Regions from separate parts of the Homo sapiens genome. Here all the other regions are linked to region 3. The links are contacts of gene promoters, found by promoter capture Hi-C in blood cells and fetal thymus (Javierre and others, 2016). All regions are on one chromosome and are shown on one strand. The core of a region is centred on a gene start or on the middle of the fragment in contact, and the rest is flanking DNA. Distances in the headings are between cores, read along the strand shown. Region 1 has its middle 180 kb from the start of HDDC2. Region 2 overlaps TRMT11 (tRNA methyltransferase 11). Region 3 holds the start of HEY2 (hes related family bHLH transcription factor with YRPW motif 2).

Region 1 (2,956 bases), core at 87-2,586, 270 kb after region 3:
TCTGGCCAGAAAGGAGCCTACCAGCTTAGCTGAAGCAGTGGTATTTAGGGGCTCAAGGATCTGAGGATGGGAAGCTCATTTGGGTATTGTAAAACATATGCATTCCATTTAGGATCCTTCTCTTGAGAAAATGGCTCTGACTCCTGGGTGGAAGGAACACGAAACTAACATACTCCTCTCAGCTGTATAAATATAATTTGGCAGAAGATATAAGCTGGCATGCCAACAATCAGAATACAGCCTTTCATCTCCATCATAGCCTTAGCTAGGCTGTCTGCCTATATTTGACCTCCTCGTGGGTTCATTTGCTTCATTTTAGCCAATAGAATGCTGCAATGTAGAGGCATAAGAAATAAAGAGGAAGCTTACAAGGAGACTTCAGAAGAGCTACTATAAGAGTGTTAGTGATGCACAGTCAGTGATGTACAGATCCTCTGCGTGGCCTCTGTGGGCATTGGGGCATTTCCCATAATTTTCAATCAAAATTTAAAAATCACATTTGGGATGCTACCTAGTTTAAGTCCAAATAAAGTCCTATTTTTCAGTCCTCCCTGCCTTAACTGGTATCCATATGGGCCAAGTTTCCCTTTATTCCTGAACTCCAAAGGACTGTACTTCCCGAGTCTCATCTAAGTACAGATGAGACGCACGTATATTTGTATTACGCATCTAGAACAGAGGTGTTGTATGAAATTTTCTTGATTACTGAGGGCACAGTGATTTTTTTACAATGTGAGTAAACAATACCCTTTATTAAGTAGATAGGTCCAAATGAGCCAATAGTAGTAGTTTGTTCAGTGTTCAACAGATGTCACTGTGTTAAAGTACTTTGCAGCATTTCTGTGACTTTGCTGGGACTCCTCACACACAGTTAGGTGCTGTACTGTACACAAGGGGGGGAGTTTGATACAGTTATTGCCTATCTTAAAAAGAGTTATTATACAACCTAGTAGAGAAAATAATAAAAATGCAGTAAAACATGTTATACAGCAAAGCAAGATGCTATACTATATTTAAGAAAGGTATTTTATCGGTCAGGAGGTTTAATTGCAAATATCAGAATCTAATCTATTGACTTTGAGTAGTAAAGGGGTTATGAAAGAATATTAAGTCACTTACAGAATTTCTAGACAGACCAGGGAAACCAGGTTGGGTGCTGCACAGCCAGAAGAAATGCGCAAGAAGACTGCAAAACCATTTAGTGAAACCACACTGTTGTGGCCTCTACTGTCCCCCATGCAACACCTAAGTAAGACCCTAGGGACTCTACCCAATGCCTCCAGAGAATAAAATTCCTCTGCCATAATATCCAAATTCCCTGAGTGTAGATGTTACTTTACAGTGGCCACTTCTGCCTTCCAAGTCTGATGTGAGCCCCAGCGCTCACTCAAGGAACCTAGATCATAGGTGGAAACCCTATAGGTGAGAAGGAGTTTTTTAGTCTTCCAGCTTCTTCAGTACAAAAAAGTAGCTCAGAAGAGGGCTAGGGTGAGTGCCAAGTAATCTAAACTGCATCTGCCATGGGTACAAATGAATAGAGTGGTTACTAAGAAAGAGCAGGAGGTCAGATTTGGTTATGCTAGAATAGGAGTCACTCCATCATGGACATAGGATTTCAACTGGGCCTTGGGAGAATGGTGGTATCTCATAGGCCAAAATTTGGGTGACCTGTCCTGGTGAATAAAATAAGACATATAATGGTGTAAAGGCAGGGAAGTGTAAGGTAAGATTCAGGAAATGGTCAGTGATATCTGTTTGGAGCATACTTTAACAAGTAAGGAGGAAGGAGACATAAGGTTGGGGACTTGGGTTGTGCCAGTGTGGTAGAAGTCTTATACCAGATGGAGGAGTCTCTAAGTACATGATAATGGCTCCCTGAAGGTTATTTTCTTAAAAACTAGATGGAATTTTAGAAATAGAAACAGAAAAATGCTCAGACATCTCCTCTTCTCTGTCTGACCTTACTCTCTGGGTGATTTCATCTGCTCCTATTGCTTTAAAGGTGTCCAGATGCTAAAGACCCCATGTTCCCATATCCAACTCAGACTCTGCAACTGAACTCTGGGCTTATCTATCCAAATGCCCACTCTCCCTGATATGGATGTAGATAGGCACTTCATACTCAATATGTCCAAAATGGAGCTCTTGTTTCTCCCTCTACCTTATAGACCTACTCACCACTGTCTTCCCGTCTTAGTAAGTTGTAAATTCAAACTTCCAGCTCTCTGGCTAAAAATCGCAGTGTTATCCCTGACTGTGTCTCTCTCTCACACTGCCTATTGACTATCAGCAAATCCTGTCAAGCTTTCGAAAGACGTTCAGAGCCTGACACCATCTCATCACCTCTTCCAACACCACCCCATTCTAAGCCACTATCATCCCTTGCCTAGATTACACAGTGGTTCCTAACTAACTTGCCAGCTTCCAAACATTCCCCACACAGCAACCAGAGTGTTTTTTTCAACAAGTTGAGTCAGATCACGCCACTCTTCAGCTAAAAATCCCCTAGTGGCTTCTCATTTCATTAAACTAAAAACCAACATCCTTACAAAGATTTATTTGGCCCTACCCAACTTGGCCCCAGCTACTCCTCTGATCTTTCTCCCTACAAGTCACTGTCTTCCTCACTGTGCTCCAGCCTCAGGCATCCTTGCTATTCTCCAAATGCTCCAAACACATCCCTGACTCAGACATTCATACTGTTGTTTCCTCTGCTTTAAATATTCTTCTACCAAAAAGCCCTGTGACTCTCACCTTTCTTCAGAAATCTGCTCCGATACCACATTATCAGAGAAGACTTCCACAATTCGCTGTGTGAAATAGCACTGAATACCCTCTATCTTCCTTAGCTGCATTTCTCACCATGTGCCACATAATATGTATGCAGTGCAATATATTATGGATATGTTTCTAATTATTGACATTTCCCATGAATTAGGACAGTGCCTGGCATACA
Region 2 (2,867 bases), core at 344-2,843, 270 kb before region 3:
CTTTTCTAGGTCCCACTGACCTTCAACGAGCTCTCCCTATTACCTCAACCATATGCTCAAACCCATCATCACCCACTTCCCAAGCATCATTCATAATGCACTTCACTTTATTATCAGTGGAAAGAATTATCTTGAAGTCATTCTCTGACTTCTTCCTAGAGCTTTCTAACAAGTAATGAGCACTTCAGATTTCACCTCATCTAGTAATTCTTTAATGTTCACTACATAGCCAGAAATGTTGTACTTCTTATAACAATGACATCAAATTTTGAATCTTCATGCAATGCATTTATGACATGAAAGAATAAATTCTTTTTTTACTTTTTCAGAGAACGGATCTTGCTCTGTTGCCGAGGCTGGAGTACAGTAGAAAGAATATATTCTACACCATGGTTGAGACTAAAATAAAAAGTGCTAACAGAGAGAAGATATAGCCTTAACCTTAAGCTTGCAAACCGTAGGATCTATAGATGCTGGAAACAGTTTGTGTCAAACTAAGTAATATACTAATTTTTAAAGGAAAAAAATTTTTTACTTCCTGGTGGACTGACTTAAAGTATTTTTTTATTAAGGTGTCACTTAAATATGCACAAGCATAAATTAGATATAAACTCTTCATGTTTAGATCCCTAATATAACTATAAAACCCAAAAAGCAAATTTATCAATCAAATCCAAGGTACCAACACAATTTTAATTAACATCTATGACATGAATGACGCTAAACTGCTAAACTAAGTTGCTGCATTTGGTTTTAACAGCAGAAAAACATATTTGCATGTTTCATATTATCTTTTTTGACTCGATCTTAATTCATTTTTAACAATTAATCTATTATATTAATGAGCCAATTAATTTAACAATACACTCCCAAAGCACCATACTAAAAAGATTAAAAAATAGCAGTTAAAAAATTCTTCAGCTGGGCGTGGTGGCTCACGCCTGTAATCCTAGTGCTTTGGGAGGCCAAGGCAGGTGGATCACCTGAGGTCAGGAGTTCAAGACCAGCCTGGCCAAAATGGTGAAACCCCGTCTCTGCTAAAAATACAAAATTAGCCAGGCATGGTGGCACATGCCTGTAATCCCAGCTACTTGGGAGGCTGAGGCAGGAGAATCGCTCAAACCTGGGAGGTGGAGGTTGTAGTGAGCCGAGATCACGCCACTGCACTCCAGCCTGGGCAACAAGAGCGAAATTGTCTCAAAAAAAAAATAAAATAAAGTAAAATAAAATTATTCACTGTATATTTACCAATATATTTCATTCCAATGGAATGTTCGCAAGTGGTTAAGTAGAAGGCATAAATCTATATTTTGCCTGGACCATTATGACAGTACTAAATCCCATCTTAATTCCCTGTTTTTATTAATATCCCCCTACAATCCAAGTTATCTATTTAAAAACTAAATCATCCTTAATAGGCAAATCCACAGAGATTGACAAGTGGTTGACAGAGATAGGGGGGTGGTAACTACTAATGTCTGTGGGGTACTTCTCGGGGGTGAGGAAAATGTTCTGGAATTACCTAGTGGTGATGGTCACACAACTTTGTGGATAAACTAAAAACCATGAAGTTGTATACGTTAAGGGGGTGAATTTCATGGTATACAAATTCTATGTCAATTAAAAAAAAATAATTGTGTACATAGGCCCCTAGATTTTCCACGAATCAATTTTGACTGTCACTCATTTTCCTGTGAATCTTCCTGCTTCAACTACTTCCCAAATGTCACTAGAATTTCAGCTCCCATTTGAGAAACAGATTTTGCATTGATTGAACATTTACTAAAAACAGCTTAAAAATCACTTTTTCCTCTTTCCTAAGTAAGAGATGAAAAACATGTTCTCTTCACTCATTATAGGCACTGCAAAGTTCACCTTACTACAATCAAAATTTATTTCCAAGTCCTACTTTGGGGCACATTATTAGCTTCTTTCTCACCTTTTTAAAAATTTTTAATTAATGAATTATAATTGTACATATTTGGGGGGTACAATGTGCTATTTTAATATAAGTATGTCATCATGTTATCACTAACACTAGCAGCTGGATTTCTATAAAGGTCATCATTTATAAAGAAACACTGTTTCTAATCACTTCAAGAGTTATCTGTGTACAATGAAATTAGATAAAGCTAAATGGATATATGGAGCCTGGGCAAACAGCTACACTCACTCAGTAGCACACTGGCTCCTATGACATCAAACACCTGGATTGTATGTGTACACACTGGATTGATGCCCTGTACACATGATTGCAACACATAATCTGGGTCATTTGTAAGTAGTCAAAATTGTAAATAATAAACTCACAAATACCAACAGTCTACAGTAATTTTATGTGTTAAGTCTCTATAAGCAGTAAAAACAAGCTATTATGAGAGCACAGAGGATGGACTGATTAATTCTGCTGAGAAGTATCTGAGAAAGTGTCACAGAAGTGGTGACAATTAAGCCAGGCCTAGAAAAATGACTAGATTTTTACCAGTTGAGGAAAGAAGAAAGGGCATCTCAAACAATGGGGACAGAATAAACAAAAGTGAAAAGACATAAAATGCACAGAGTATCTTGATGCTGGCAAAAAGTCTGATATACTGGAGTGGGGAGAGTGTAGACTAGAAGGAAAAAGAACAGCAGAAGTTTCTGAGTAGCAGTTTCTTTACTGCAATTTAAATTGTCAAACAGTGAGAAAATCCTTTTCAATCATTAGCTCTCACAATTTTCCATATACAACTAAGCTTTTACGCAGTATTTTGCTTTTATGTCTTATACTTTTCAATCAATCCTGGGTTAAAATAATACCTGAACTTGGTTATAATGTGTAACTTGAATCATATAACAGGGTTTGGCTGAGAGTAAATTAATTCATT
Region 3 (2,930 bases), core at 396-2,895:
AGTTAGTCATATATTGCAACAGGAAAAAATTGACAAACTTGATGTTTTGCATACTAATCTTCCAAAAATATGCCCTAAATATGCCACTGATAGGAAAATTAAAACTCATTTTATTACTAGGTGAATGTTTTACTTTGAAAATGAAACTGTAGGTGTGTCTCAGACTTTAGGCTAAGCTTAAATCTCCAGAAGCTGCAATGCACCTTGGATTTACTAATGAAAATATATTTTTATATTGAAGGTTCAATCAAAGTATTATTTGGTCACATAATTTTTACAATCCTTTCTAGTTTGTATCTGTTTCTCTTCATAATTCATGGATACTATGCTTCTTTGTGTTCTCAAATTCCCCAGGTTCCTGTTATTTGTTCTCTTTCATTTTAGAAATGCTGCACACACCAGGTTGCTATTACCTCACCTTCTCACTTCTGGATCTTATTTCTGAATTACCTGTCCCCCTCATTTTCACCCCTTCTTTACGGGTTTCACCTTTCACGTGATAGCTTCTGTTTTTCAGACCTCATTTTTAAAGACGGCACAACAACACTTTAATGATCAGATACTTAAACCTTTGCTTTCGTGTAAATATCTTTGCTCTTGCAGATTTTGTGCTTTGCTTTGTATGTATTAGAATAACAATATGAAAGAAAACCAGTTTTCCAAAGGTAGGAAGAATTTCCCTCTTTGAGTGACAGCTGCAGATAAATAATTAAGGTGCTTCTGGGGATGCCAATTAGAAGCAATTATCATTTGACCCGCCTTGGCTCTAAAATGCCTCGGTAATCTCCCTCTGTCACAGGAAAGTGGAGGTCTGGCTTCTGTGATTACGACGCCGATCTCTTCCAGACTTGAGAACAAGCAGTCAAAGAAATGATGCCCTTTCCGATGCTTACATCTGTCACTCACTCTTGCGTTAGCCAAGTCACACACGGTCAACCTGCAAAGTTCAACCTACGTAGCCTTGACATCGCAGGTTGCTTTAATTCCTCCAAAAATCAAGTTGTGATTTTGGTATCTCTAAAAATCAAAAATCAAATTGTTTTTATTTTCTCCTGATCTATTTTGAAAGTGCCCCCAAATACGGTTTCAGTGGCTGGGACATCGCCTGTCGCCCAGACGCTGCCGTTCGCGCGTCCAACTGTGACAGCCAGGACCCTCCCTCGCCAACTCCTGCGCTCTGCCTTTCAGTGGCGTCTCCCATCCTGGCTACTCCACCCCTACGGTGAAAATCCACATCCCTTGCCCCATCCCAACTCACGCTCTGCGAGCGCCCACCACTCAAACTTTCTCAGGCCAAACTTTCCCTCTCTACCTAGATGCTGCGGAGACCAGCCTCGGGATTTCCAGGGAGCCACGCATTCACAAAGCTACCCCAAGCTCCCGAGCTGCGGGCCGCTCCCGCGGAGCCCGCGCTCACCCCGAGTAATTGTTCTCGCTCCCCACGTCGATGGTCTCGTCCATGTCGCTCTCGGAGGTCGTCTCCTCGCAGGGGCGCTTCATCCCGGCGAAGACCGCGCGGGGCACAGCCCGGCCGGAAGCTCGGACGCCGAGCGGGGCGCAGCACCCTGACGCCCGCCTCCTCCCTCCCCGGGCCTGGGCAGGCGCGGCTCCGGCGGCGGCGCGGTCTGCTCCTAGCGGCTCTTTCCCACGCCGCAACTCTGCTCGGCCGCAAGAGCCGGCGCCGGCCACGCCCCCCCCTCGAGCGGGTGGGGCCACCTCACCCGCCCCCGCGCACCGGCCCAGGCCTTCCGCCCGGCACCTCCCCCTCGCTGGTCGGCGTGGCTCGCGATTGGCTGGGCCAGGGGGCGGGGCCGCGCTCGCCAATGCCCGCCGCAAGGCTCCAGCCGAGGCGTGGGAACGCGGCCGCGGACCTGGTACCCCAGAGCAGCGAGCGGGTGGGGAGCAGCCGGGGCGAGAATGAGCGCAATCTTGCTAACCCCTGCGGAGGGAGCGCGCGGGCGCCAACGCGGGCGCGCGGGGGCGGGCCCTGGACCTGGACCTTGGGTTTCGGCCCTCCTCCGCGCCCCGCGGTCTCGCGGGCGAAGTTTCAGTCCTGAGTGTAAAGAATAACCCCAAGCGCGTGGCTAAGTGCGAGCAGGCGCGTGTGACGTCGGGAGGCGCCGCGGCTCCTCGGCCGCCCCACTCGGTGGTCCCCTGTCTGGATCCAAACTGCTGACTGGCTGACCCGAGTGGTCACATTTGCCCTCTGGGGCTTTTGAAAACCTTAAATCAAAATTGCTTTTGAATCTGACAACTCCTGAGGCTACTTTCGCGGCCTCGGGGCTGTTTCATATAAGGACGCGAGTTTTCCTGATCAGGTCTGTCGGCCACGTTACGATTTCCAATTTGCGATCCATCAGTTACTTCCATTGGGTCTTCAGCCCCCAGGGACTGTGGATCCTAGACCCCGCGGAGAAGCCCGTGGACTGGAGCTGTGTCAGCTCTGATGGTAGGAAAGACTAGATCAATGACGCGGGCATTTCAGGACATAATCGTATATTTTCAAGTTCGAGTTTTTCGGGCTTGGATTATCCAGATAATTGCCTCCAGTCTCCTCCAGTCCCCCTGGTGTATGCACTCGCAGCCGCAGAGTTAGAGTCCGGGAGGTGAAGATTGGCGCTTGGAAATTAGATTTGGTTTCTAAAGTATGAATTCGTGTCCAACAGTTCGTGCCTTGGACAACGTGGGTTGTATAAAACTCAAGCTGTGTGTTTAAAACAGGTTTTCTAGCTGCTGGTTCTCTCCAAGTTATGTAGGACTTTTGAACTGGCCACCCCGCTGTGCGTCTGCGAGGGCAGGGACTGAGCGAGACCCAGCCAGGGGCGCCGGGAGACTGGCGGCGGCTGGGTTGGGGTCCAGCCGGAAACCACACGTTGGCAGGGCCGCTTGGTCAGTAGTGGAGAGAGCCTCTGAGAAAGGGCCGTCTATCG

What was found. The method cuts DNA at HindIII sites, captures the fragments that hold promoters and counts their contacts. A CHiCAGO score of 5 or more calls a contact.
Region 1: a fragment that was not itself captured here is called in contact with the fragment with the promoter of HEY2 in region 3 in 1 of 17 cell types (megakaryocytes); the score reaches 5.4 in megakaryocytes.
Region 2: a fragment that was not itself captured here is called in contact with the fragment with the promoter of HEY2 in region 3 in 1 of 17 cell types (activated CD4 T cells); the score reaches 5.3 in activated CD4 T cells.

What each region holds. Positions count from the first base shown.
Region 1 is chr6:125,477,550-125,480,505 of GRCh38, reverse strand. No RefSeq gene overlaps it. Among named protein-coding and RNA genes, the nearest start is that of HDDC2, 180 kb to the right of the region's middle. The HindIII fragment of the contact is 1,940 bases long and covers 367-2,306 here.
Region 2 is chr6:126,017,232-126,020,098 of GRCh38, reverse strand. All of the region lies in intron 11 of TRMT11 (tRNA methyltransferase 11), which reads right to left. Among named protein-coding and RNA genes, the nearest start is that of TRMT11, 32 kb to the right of the region's middle. The HindIII fragment of the contact is 2,288 bases long and covers 450-2,737 here.
Region 3 is chr6:125,748,347-125,751,276 of GRCh38, reverse strand. It overlaps HEY2 (hes related family bHLH transcription factor with YRPW motif 2), which reads right to left and starts at 1,645. Exons shown (of 5, transcript NM_012259.3): 1 at 1,418-1,645. The coding sequence starts at 1,500. HEY2-AS1 (HEY2 antisense RNA 1) reads left to right here and starts at 1,852. Exons shown (of 5, transcript NR_183491.1): 1 at 1,852-2,318. RefSeq lists a silencer at 1,427-2,136. The HindIII fragment of the contact is 5,509 bases long and covers 179-2,930 here.